Regions from separate parts of the Homo sapiens genome. Here region 2 is linked to region 1. The links are contacts of gene promoters, found by promoter capture Hi-C in blood cells and fetal thymus (Javierre and others, 2016). All regions are on one chromosome and are shown on one strand. Each heading gives the region's core, a stretch centred on a gene start or on the middle of the fragment in contact. The rest is flanking DNA. Distances are from core to core; before and after follow the strand shown. Region 1 holds the start of PSMB7 (proteasome 20S subunit beta 7). Region 2 overlaps NR6A1 (nuclear receptor subfamily 6 group A member 1).

Evidence for each region. The method cuts DNA at HindIII sites, captures the fragments that hold promoters and counts their contacts. A CHiCAGO score of 5 or more calls a contact.
Region 2: a contact is called between a fragment that was not itself captured here and the fragment with the promoter of PSMB7 in region 1, in 2 of 17 cell types (megakaryocytes and endothelial precursors). The highest score is 8.2, in megakaryocytes.

The regions. Positions count from the first base shown.
Region 1 is chr9:124,413,447-124,417,603 of GRCh38, reverse strand. PSMB7 (proteasome 20S subunit beta 7) reads left to right here and starts at 2,162. Exons shown (of 8, transcript NM_002799.4): 1 at 2,162-2,240; 2 at 2,669-2,762; 3 at 3,599-3,696. The coding sequence starts at 2,179. RefSeq lists an enhancer at 2,206-2,255. The HindIII fragment of the contact is 2,900 bases long and covers 1-2,713 here.
Region 2 is chr9:124,534,757-124,538,913 of GRCh38, reverse strand. It overlaps NR6A1 (nuclear receptor subfamily 6 group A member 1), which reads left to right. Exons shown (of 10, transcript NM_033334.4): 6 at 595-822; 7 at 2,782-3,036. Among named protein-coding and RNA genes, the nearest start is that of NR5A1, 29 kb to the right of the region's middle. RefSeq lists an enhancer at 2,701-3,201. The HindIII fragment of the contact is 1,882 bases long and covers 1,409-3,290 here.

The sequences.
Region 1 (4,157 bases), core at 913-3,412:
TCTCTACTAAAAATACAAAAATTAGTCAGGCGTGGTGGCATATGCCTGTAATCCCAGCTACTTGGGAGGCTGAGGCATGAGAATCACTTGAACCCAGGAGGTGGAGGTTGCAGTGAGCTGAGATCATGCCACTGCACTCCAGCCTGGGTGATAGAGGGAGACCGAGTCTCAAAAAAATAAATAAATAAATAAAATAAAATAAAATAAAATAAAATTCACCTAACGTAGAAGTCACCATTTTAACCATTTTAAAGTGTGCAACTCAGTGGTTTTTAGTGTATTCATAATATCGTGCAACCAATACCACTATGTAATTCCAGAATATTTTCATCATTTTCCAAAAACTCTGCGCCCACTAAACAGTCCTATCCATTCTCTCCTCCTCCCCTAACCCTTAGCAACCAAACATCTACTTTCTGTCTGTGGATTTGCCTATTAAGAACACTTCACATACATGGAATGATACACTATGTGGCCTTTTGTGCCTGGCTTCTTTCCCTCAGTATATTTTTAAGGTCCATCCCTGTTGTAACATGTATCTGTGCTTCAGACTTCTTTATGGTCTAATAATATTCCATTAAATGAATTTACCATATTTTGTTTATCCATTCATCAGTGGATGGACATTTGTTTCCATTATTTGGCTATTGTGAATAATGAGACCCCCCCCTCGCTTTTTTTTTTGAGACGGAGTCTCTGCTCTGTTGCCCAGGCTGGAGTGCAGTGGCGTGATCTCAGCTCACTGCAACTTCTGCCTCCCTGGTTCGAGCTATTCTCCTGCCTCGGCCTCCTGACTAGCTGGGACTACAGGTGCCCACCACCACGTCTGGCTAAGTTTTTGTATTTTTAGTAAAGACGGAGTTTCACCGTGTTAGCCAGGATGGTCTCAATCTCCTGACCTCATGATCCGCCCACCTCGGCCTCCCAAAGTGCTGGGATTACAGGCGTGAGACACCGCGCCCAGCCAATGAGACCCCTTTTGACGCAGGGCAGGTAAGCCCCAAAGTGCGGCTGAGCCCACAAGGGTTCTTGGCTTTGCCCAAGAAAGAATTCAAGGGCAAGTTAGAGGCAGAAGAAAACGGCTTTATTGAAGTGGCGGCGTTACAGCTCCATGACTGCTCCTGCAGAGCAGGGTTACCCTCTTAGGCAGAGTGTCAGGGCAGTTTTGCTGTCATATTTATACACACTTTTAATTACATGCAGATTAAGGGGTGGTTTATGCAGGCATTTCTAGGGAAGGGGTAGTAACTTTTGGTTTATGGTGCCACTGCCATGGAAAGGGGCGGTAACTCACGAGTGTTGCCATGGCAACGGTAAACTGACTTGGCTGGCTGGTGAGCGAGTCTTAGGGAAGACAGCTTCCGTCCAGGCCCTGTTTTAGCTAGTCCTCAATTTGGTCAGGTATCTCAGCCCCATCTCTGAATGGAGGCCTGCCTTCTACCTCACCTTTGTAGAAGTTTTTGTGAATACATGTCTTCAACCCTCTCGGGTGCGTATCTAAGAGGATAATACTTTTTGGGGAACTGCCAAATTGTTTTCCGGAGCAGCCGCACCGTTTTGCATTCTCACCAGCCGTGTATTCGGGTTCCAATTTCTCCACACTCTCGCAACCCTTGCGCTTTTCTGTCTTTTTGTTTATGGCCATCCTAGCGGGTGCGAAGTGGGATCTCACTGTGGTCGTGCTTTGCATTCACCCTATGACTAATCATGTTGAGCCTCTTTTCACAGACTTAATGGCCATTCTACAGCAGCCTTTTGAGCTAGGTTGTAATCTCCATCTGATAGCGGAGGAAACAGATTCAGAGAGTTGAAGAGACTTGCTTAACGCAAGGGGGTGGTGGGGCTGTGCCTGGGACTTGGGTCTGTCTGTCTCTGAAGCACCGCAGAACCAAATTAACGGTAGAAACAAGTCCAGTCTGAGCGGCAGGAGACCTGGTCGCTGGTGCGTTCACCTTGGACAAGTCCTTTCCCGGTTCCGGGTGTCACTTTCTCCTCCGTGCCACTTGGGGCGATATACTTCAAACATCTCTGGCCTCTCTAGGAACCAGAATCTCTAAGATCAATCGTTCTAGTGCGGCGTTTGCCCCGCCCCTTCAGCCCCCGTTGCCAGCGACGCCGGAAGTGCTCGGCTCTTTTTGTTTGCACCCGCCTCCGACCCGGAACTGCTTTCTTGGGAAGATGGCGGCTGTGTCGGTGTATGCTCCACCAGTTGGAGGCTTCTCTTTTGATAACTGCCGCAGGTGCCGCCTTGCTTGGGGCTTGGTTCAGGGAGGGAGAAGAGTGCGGTGCTCGGGTGGGAGCTGGGCCAAGGTGTGATACGAGAATTCTGAGGGAAGAATTCATGGCGGGGCCTGTGGCCCGCGGCTAGTGTGACTCAGGGGAATCAGGGCCTGGGCGTGGGTTTCTCCTGAAGCCGGGTCTGCTCTCCCACCTTCCCAGCGCACTCGGCCACCGTTTATCTCCGTCTCCTAAGGCACGTCACGGCCCCTTTGTAAGACTGTCTTCGTTGGAAAACGGGAGAACAGTGCTGATGGTGGGAGGATTCATTAAACAGATGGGCGTGAAAACAAGTAGCAGCTTTCCTGAGTTCTCTGTTAGGCACTTTTCATGCCAGTGCTGTGCGATGTGGTCCTGCCCTTCAACACTTGATTCTCTCATTTGCTCTTAGGAATGCCGTCTTGGAAGCCGATTTTGCAAAGAGGGGATACAAGCTTCCAAAGGTCCGGAAAACTGGCACGACCATCGCTGGGGTGGTCTATAAGGTAAGCCGGGTTAGGCTAAGAGCAGCAGTGACTGAACCGGCAACAGGAATCAGAACACTTGGCTTCCGGTGTCTCTCCCGGCTCGGTCTGGAAAGGCAAATGCTATAGAATACATCAGGAGACCGTCTTTCAGGAGCGACTGCTTTTGTCAGGTTTTGTGTGCTTCTTAACAGTTTATGTTCTTTCCTCACTTTGCTGAGGTTTTTTCTTTCTTTCTTTTTTTTTTTTTTAAACAGGTCAGTTAGCTTCTTAATTACTAGTTTAGGAAGCTGAAGTATGTGATGGGAGATCACGAGATTTGGGGTCAGACAGGTCTGTCTCACCTTTGAACTCTATAGTGCTGATTCCAACTTCTGGCAGCTCACTTTCCTTCTCACAGGGACACCTTCAGATGCATCAAATGGAGATAACTCCTGCCTTAAATTGTTGGAAACGTCAAAAGGGATAATGATTACCTGTGCAACATGTTTTAAAGAAAAGCAACATGTTTTAAAAGGAAATTGATAGTGATGGCTAATTTAATGGAAAGATTCCTGAGTCTTAATCCAGGTTTTTTCCAGATTAGCTCTGATTTACAAGGAATTTACCCGACACCTGAGCCTCACTTGAAAATGGGAATAATTCTTACCTACTCAGGATTCAATTAGTAGCATTTACTAAGAAACCTTTTCTTAAATCCTGAAAGTGTAGCACAATATTTTTGCTATGAGTTTTGGCTGGCGTTTTGAGATTAGGGGAGCATGTGGTATGGCCAACATAGTATTCCCTAAAGTAGAATAGAGAGTTGCGGTTGGCTTATATTTGTAAAATTGTTTAAAAACTTTTTTTTTTAATAGGATGGCATAGTTCTTGGAGCAGATACAAGAGCAACTGAAGGGATGGTTGTTGCTGACAAGAACTGTTCAAAAATACACTTCATATCTCCTAATATTTAGTAAGTATTGATTCGTTTGAATAACTCTTATATTTTCAAACATGTCAGGGCTAAAAATTGACCTTCCTGTGCTCCTTACTAAAACCTGTTTTTCAACCTGTATTTTCTGTCTCCCTTAAATGGCATTTCCAGCCACCTGTTACCTAAGCCAGTAACTTCAAGTCCTCTCTTTGCTTCAGTCTCCAATTGAATTGGTGGCCAGTTTTGCCCTCTCTGTGCCTCTTGAATCCATTCCCTCCTATCCTTTCCTTTGCTAAGGCTCTAGTTTGGGTTCTTTTTTCTTTTTCTTTTTTTCAAACATTAACTTGAACCATAGAGGTTCTTTTTTCTTAGCTGGACTATTGCAGTTACCATTTAATTGGCCTCTCTTAGGCATCCTATTGTTCACTCTTCTGCCATACTGGATTTTGTAAAACATAGATCTGATGGCATCCCTTTCTTAAAAAGCTTTTCAAGAGACT
Region 2 (4,157 bases), core at 1,100-3,599, 120 kb before region 1:
TTTTTTTTAATTAGTTGACAGAGTGGTTAGCTTTCTCCAAGAAAGGAAAGGAAGGCAAAAATCTACCTTTGTCTTCATATTTAATTAAAGCTTTTATCCCATTCAGGTGCCCCTTCGTTTGTTCTTTCCTTGGACTATTTAGGGGGTTGTTGCCACATGCCGGGTTCCTTGCTAGATGCTGGATTTGTTTTGTGGCCTAGCCAGGACTTAGCCTGTCTGTGCCTTAGTTTTCCTAGCAGTATTATAATATAAATACCTACTTTGTCATCATAGTCTACAAGTATCTGTTAAAAAACTGTCCAGACATGGCACCTATACAAAGAATTCATTCAACCAATATTTATTCATTACCTACTCTGCCATGCACTGAGTGTCCAGTGGCGACCCCAACATTCATATACCCATAGAGTCTTTGTCTTACAGATGGGAATCTAGTAGGAGAGACATGAATTTAACTATTAATTATGCCCCCTGGCTTGATGAAGACACATACCTCATGTTCAAAGAATACCTAAAGTCACCTTCTGGCTCACTTCCTTTGAGTAATTACTAGACTTGCCATGGCTCTGTTTGACGCAAGACTTTTCTCTCCAGTAGGTCTGTGGAACTGAATGGATTCATGGCCTTCAGGGAACAGTACATGGGAATGTCTGTGCCTCCACATTACCAATATATACCGCACCTTTTTAGCTATTCTGGCCACTCACCACTTCTGCCCCAACAAGCTCGCAGCCTGGATCCCCAGTCATACAGTCTGATTCACCAGCTGTTATCAGCCGAGGACCTGGAACCATTGGGCACGCCCATGTTGATTGAAGATGGGTGAGTGAGCTCCGCCCTTCTTGGCCCCTTGCAGTCTCAAAGTGTCCCTACCCCACACCCACTCGCGTCCCTGGCTCCTATACCCGTGGCTTCAGAATGAGTTGGGGGGATAATGACTCAAGTGTCAGGGGACAAATCTGTGCTTATCTTTGAAACCAGTGATCCCTTATTTTTTCCTTAAGCATCCTTTCTCATAGAGTTGAGGTTACTTTCCAGTTCCTATGGAATTGAGATAGAAGGGCCTTTGATTCTGCTTGGGCCTAGGTAAGCCAGGTGCTGGGATGGGTCAGAGCACTTCCATGCTAGAGATGAGCAGTAATTCTGGGAATAGTTATATATCGGATATAGGCTCCTTCACAAAGCCCTGGCTGGTTGTAGCCTGTCTGCACCCCTCACCAGCATCCCCATGGCTAGCCTGGTGGCATGTGACCACTTTAAGTGCAGGCTTGAGTGGGTAGAAGGAGTATTCTTTCAGTCTTTAGTCACTTCTACCTGAGGAGATAACAGTTCAGCCTTCGGGCCTACCCATTGCTGCATCCATTACTCCTTTGGCCTAGAGCATAAACGATTTGAGTGTTATCAAGCTTAGACCTCCCAGGAAGGTATCCTGAGATTTCTTAAGCTAGTCTCCAGTTTCAGAAGAGGAGATTAAAATATCTACCCACAAGGAGGTCACACAAACCCTTTGTAAATCTAGATGTAGGAAGCCGGGCGTGGTGGCTCATGCCTGTAATCCCAGCACTTTGGAAGGCCTAGGTGGGCGGATCACCAGGTCACGAGTTCCAGACGAGCTGGCCAACATGGTGAAACCCCGTGTGTACTAAAAATACAAAAATTAGCTGGGTGTGGTGGCACACGCCTGTAATCGCAGCTACTCAGTAAGCTGAGGCAGGAGAATTGCTTGAACCCAGGAGGTGGAGGTTGCAGCGAGCTGAGGTTGCGGTGAGCCGAGATTGCGCCACTGCACTCCAGCTCTGGGTGACAGAGTGAGACTCCGTCTCAAAAAAAAAAAAAAAAAAAATTTAGATGTGGGAGTGTGAGGAAAAGTCTTGGCAAGGGGCCTTGAGAGGAAGAAAGCTGAAACTCTTGGGTCTGTGAGTCTGTGGTCTCAAAGCCGGCTTTTATTCCAGTTTTAGCTTAAAGGAAAGGCTGAGCAATGCTGGTTCCTGAACTCACCACCAGGGGGTGGAGTGAGAGCAGAAAAATCTTCTGAACTTGTTCTCTTTCCTTCAGTGGTCTGGACGCGAGGCTTATTTTTGTGCCAGTTCCTTTGTTAGGTGGGCATCAGATCCACCCCATTAGAGTTCCATTGCCAGAACTTGAACAGGAGTGACTTGGATTTTCTCTAAGACATGGAACATTAGAGAACACCAACAATAAAAGTCATATTCCCTGACAATTGGACACATTTCTTTTTTTTTTTTTTTTAGACAGAGTCTTGCTCTGTCACCCAGGCTGAAGTGCATTAGCGCAATCTCAGCTCACTGCAATCTCCGCCTCTCAGGTTCAAGTGATTCTTCTGCCTCTGCCTCAGCCTCCCGAGTAGCTGGGATTACAGGCATGTGCTACCACGCCCGGCTAATTTTTGTATTTTTAGTAGAGATGGGGTTTCACCATGTTGGCCAGGCTGGTCTCGAACTCCTGAACTCAAGTGGCCTCCAAGTGCTGGGATTACAGTCATGAGCCATTGCACCCAGCCAATTGCACACATTTCTAAGTCTCCTTTCCCCTTAGCAGCCTTTCCTCACCAGACCCGCCTCTCCAGCCCTGAACTTGCTGCTGGCCTCAGCCTTCCCCCTTTATCAGAAAATCACACTGAATGGAACTGGAGACCCGTGGGCATGGAGCAAGGAGCCCATTGCCAGGGTCCCTTTGTGCCCTTGGGACTACCTTCTCTCTGTACCCTTATCCTCACCCTCTGACCAATGGAAGTGACTTTCCCCTGTCCCTGCCCCTCAGATACGCTGTGACACAGGCAGAACTATTTGCCCTGCTTTGCCGCCTGGCCGACGAGCTGCTCTTTAGGCAGATTGCCTGGATCAAGAAACTGCCTTTCTTCTGCGAGCTCTCAATCAAGGATTACACGTGCCTCTTGAGCTCTACGTGGCAGGAGCTAATCCTGCTGTCTTCCCTCACCGTTTACAGCAAGCAGATCTTTGGGGAACTGGCTGATGTCACTGCCAAGTACTCGCCCTCCGATGAAGAACTACACAGGTGAGGCCTCCTGGCTGGGGAGGAAATACCAAACAACCAAACAATTGTCATCCCTGTAAGGCAGAGTTGCCTGGCCCTTCAGAGGATAGGCACTACACCTCATAGGCCTGGATTTGAATCCTCACTCTGCCACTGACTAGATTTGTGACCTTGGCCAAGTCTCTGATCCTCAGGTTCTGAACTGGTAAAATGGGGTGATAACACAATTTCCCCAGTAAGATGGTTGTTAGGAATACATTTTATGCATTCAAGCTTAGCAGAATGCTAAGCTGTAATTTTTTTTAAATTAATTTATTTTTTGAGACAGAGTCTCATTCTGTCGCCCAGGCTGGAATGTAGTGGCGCAGTCTTGGCTCACTGCAACTCTTGCCTCCCGGGTTCAAGTGATTCTCCTGCCTCAGCCTCCCAAGTAGTTGGGATTACAGGTGCCTGCCACCACACCTGGCTAATTTTTGTATTTTTAGTAGAGACGAGGTTTCACCATGTTGGCGAGACTGGTCTCAAACTGTTGACCTCAAGTGATCTACCCGTCTCAGCCTCTCAAAGTGCTGGGATTACAGGTGTGAGCCACTGCACCCAGCTGATCTTTATTATACTTGGATTACTGAGATAACGCATCCAGGAAAAATAAAAATATAAATTCTGCCTACAAGGCAAGAGAGGCTCTGAACTGGAGTTTACAATCCAAGAAAGAGACCTAGGGGTCATTTTGGTGCCTATAGTGTGCCAGGCATTAGGCTAGATTTTTTTTTTTGAGACGGTGTCTGGCTCTGTCACCCAGGCTGGAGTGCAGTGGTGCAATCTTGGCTCACTGCAAGCTCCGCCTCCCGGTTTCATGCCATTCCCCTGCCTCAGCCACCCAAGTAGCTGGGACTATAGGGGCCCGCCACCACGCCCGGCTAATTTTTTGTATATTTAGTAGAGATGGGGTTTCACCGTGTTAGCCAGGATAGTCTCGGCCTCCCGACCTCATGATCCGCCTGCCTTCCAAAGTGCTGGGATTACAGGCGTGAGCCACTGCGCCCGGTCTAGACTAGATATTTTTAATTGTCTTCTTTCTTTCTCGCAGCCTCCAGCCTTATAGGTGGTGTTGTGCCTATTTTATAGATGAGAAAACTGAA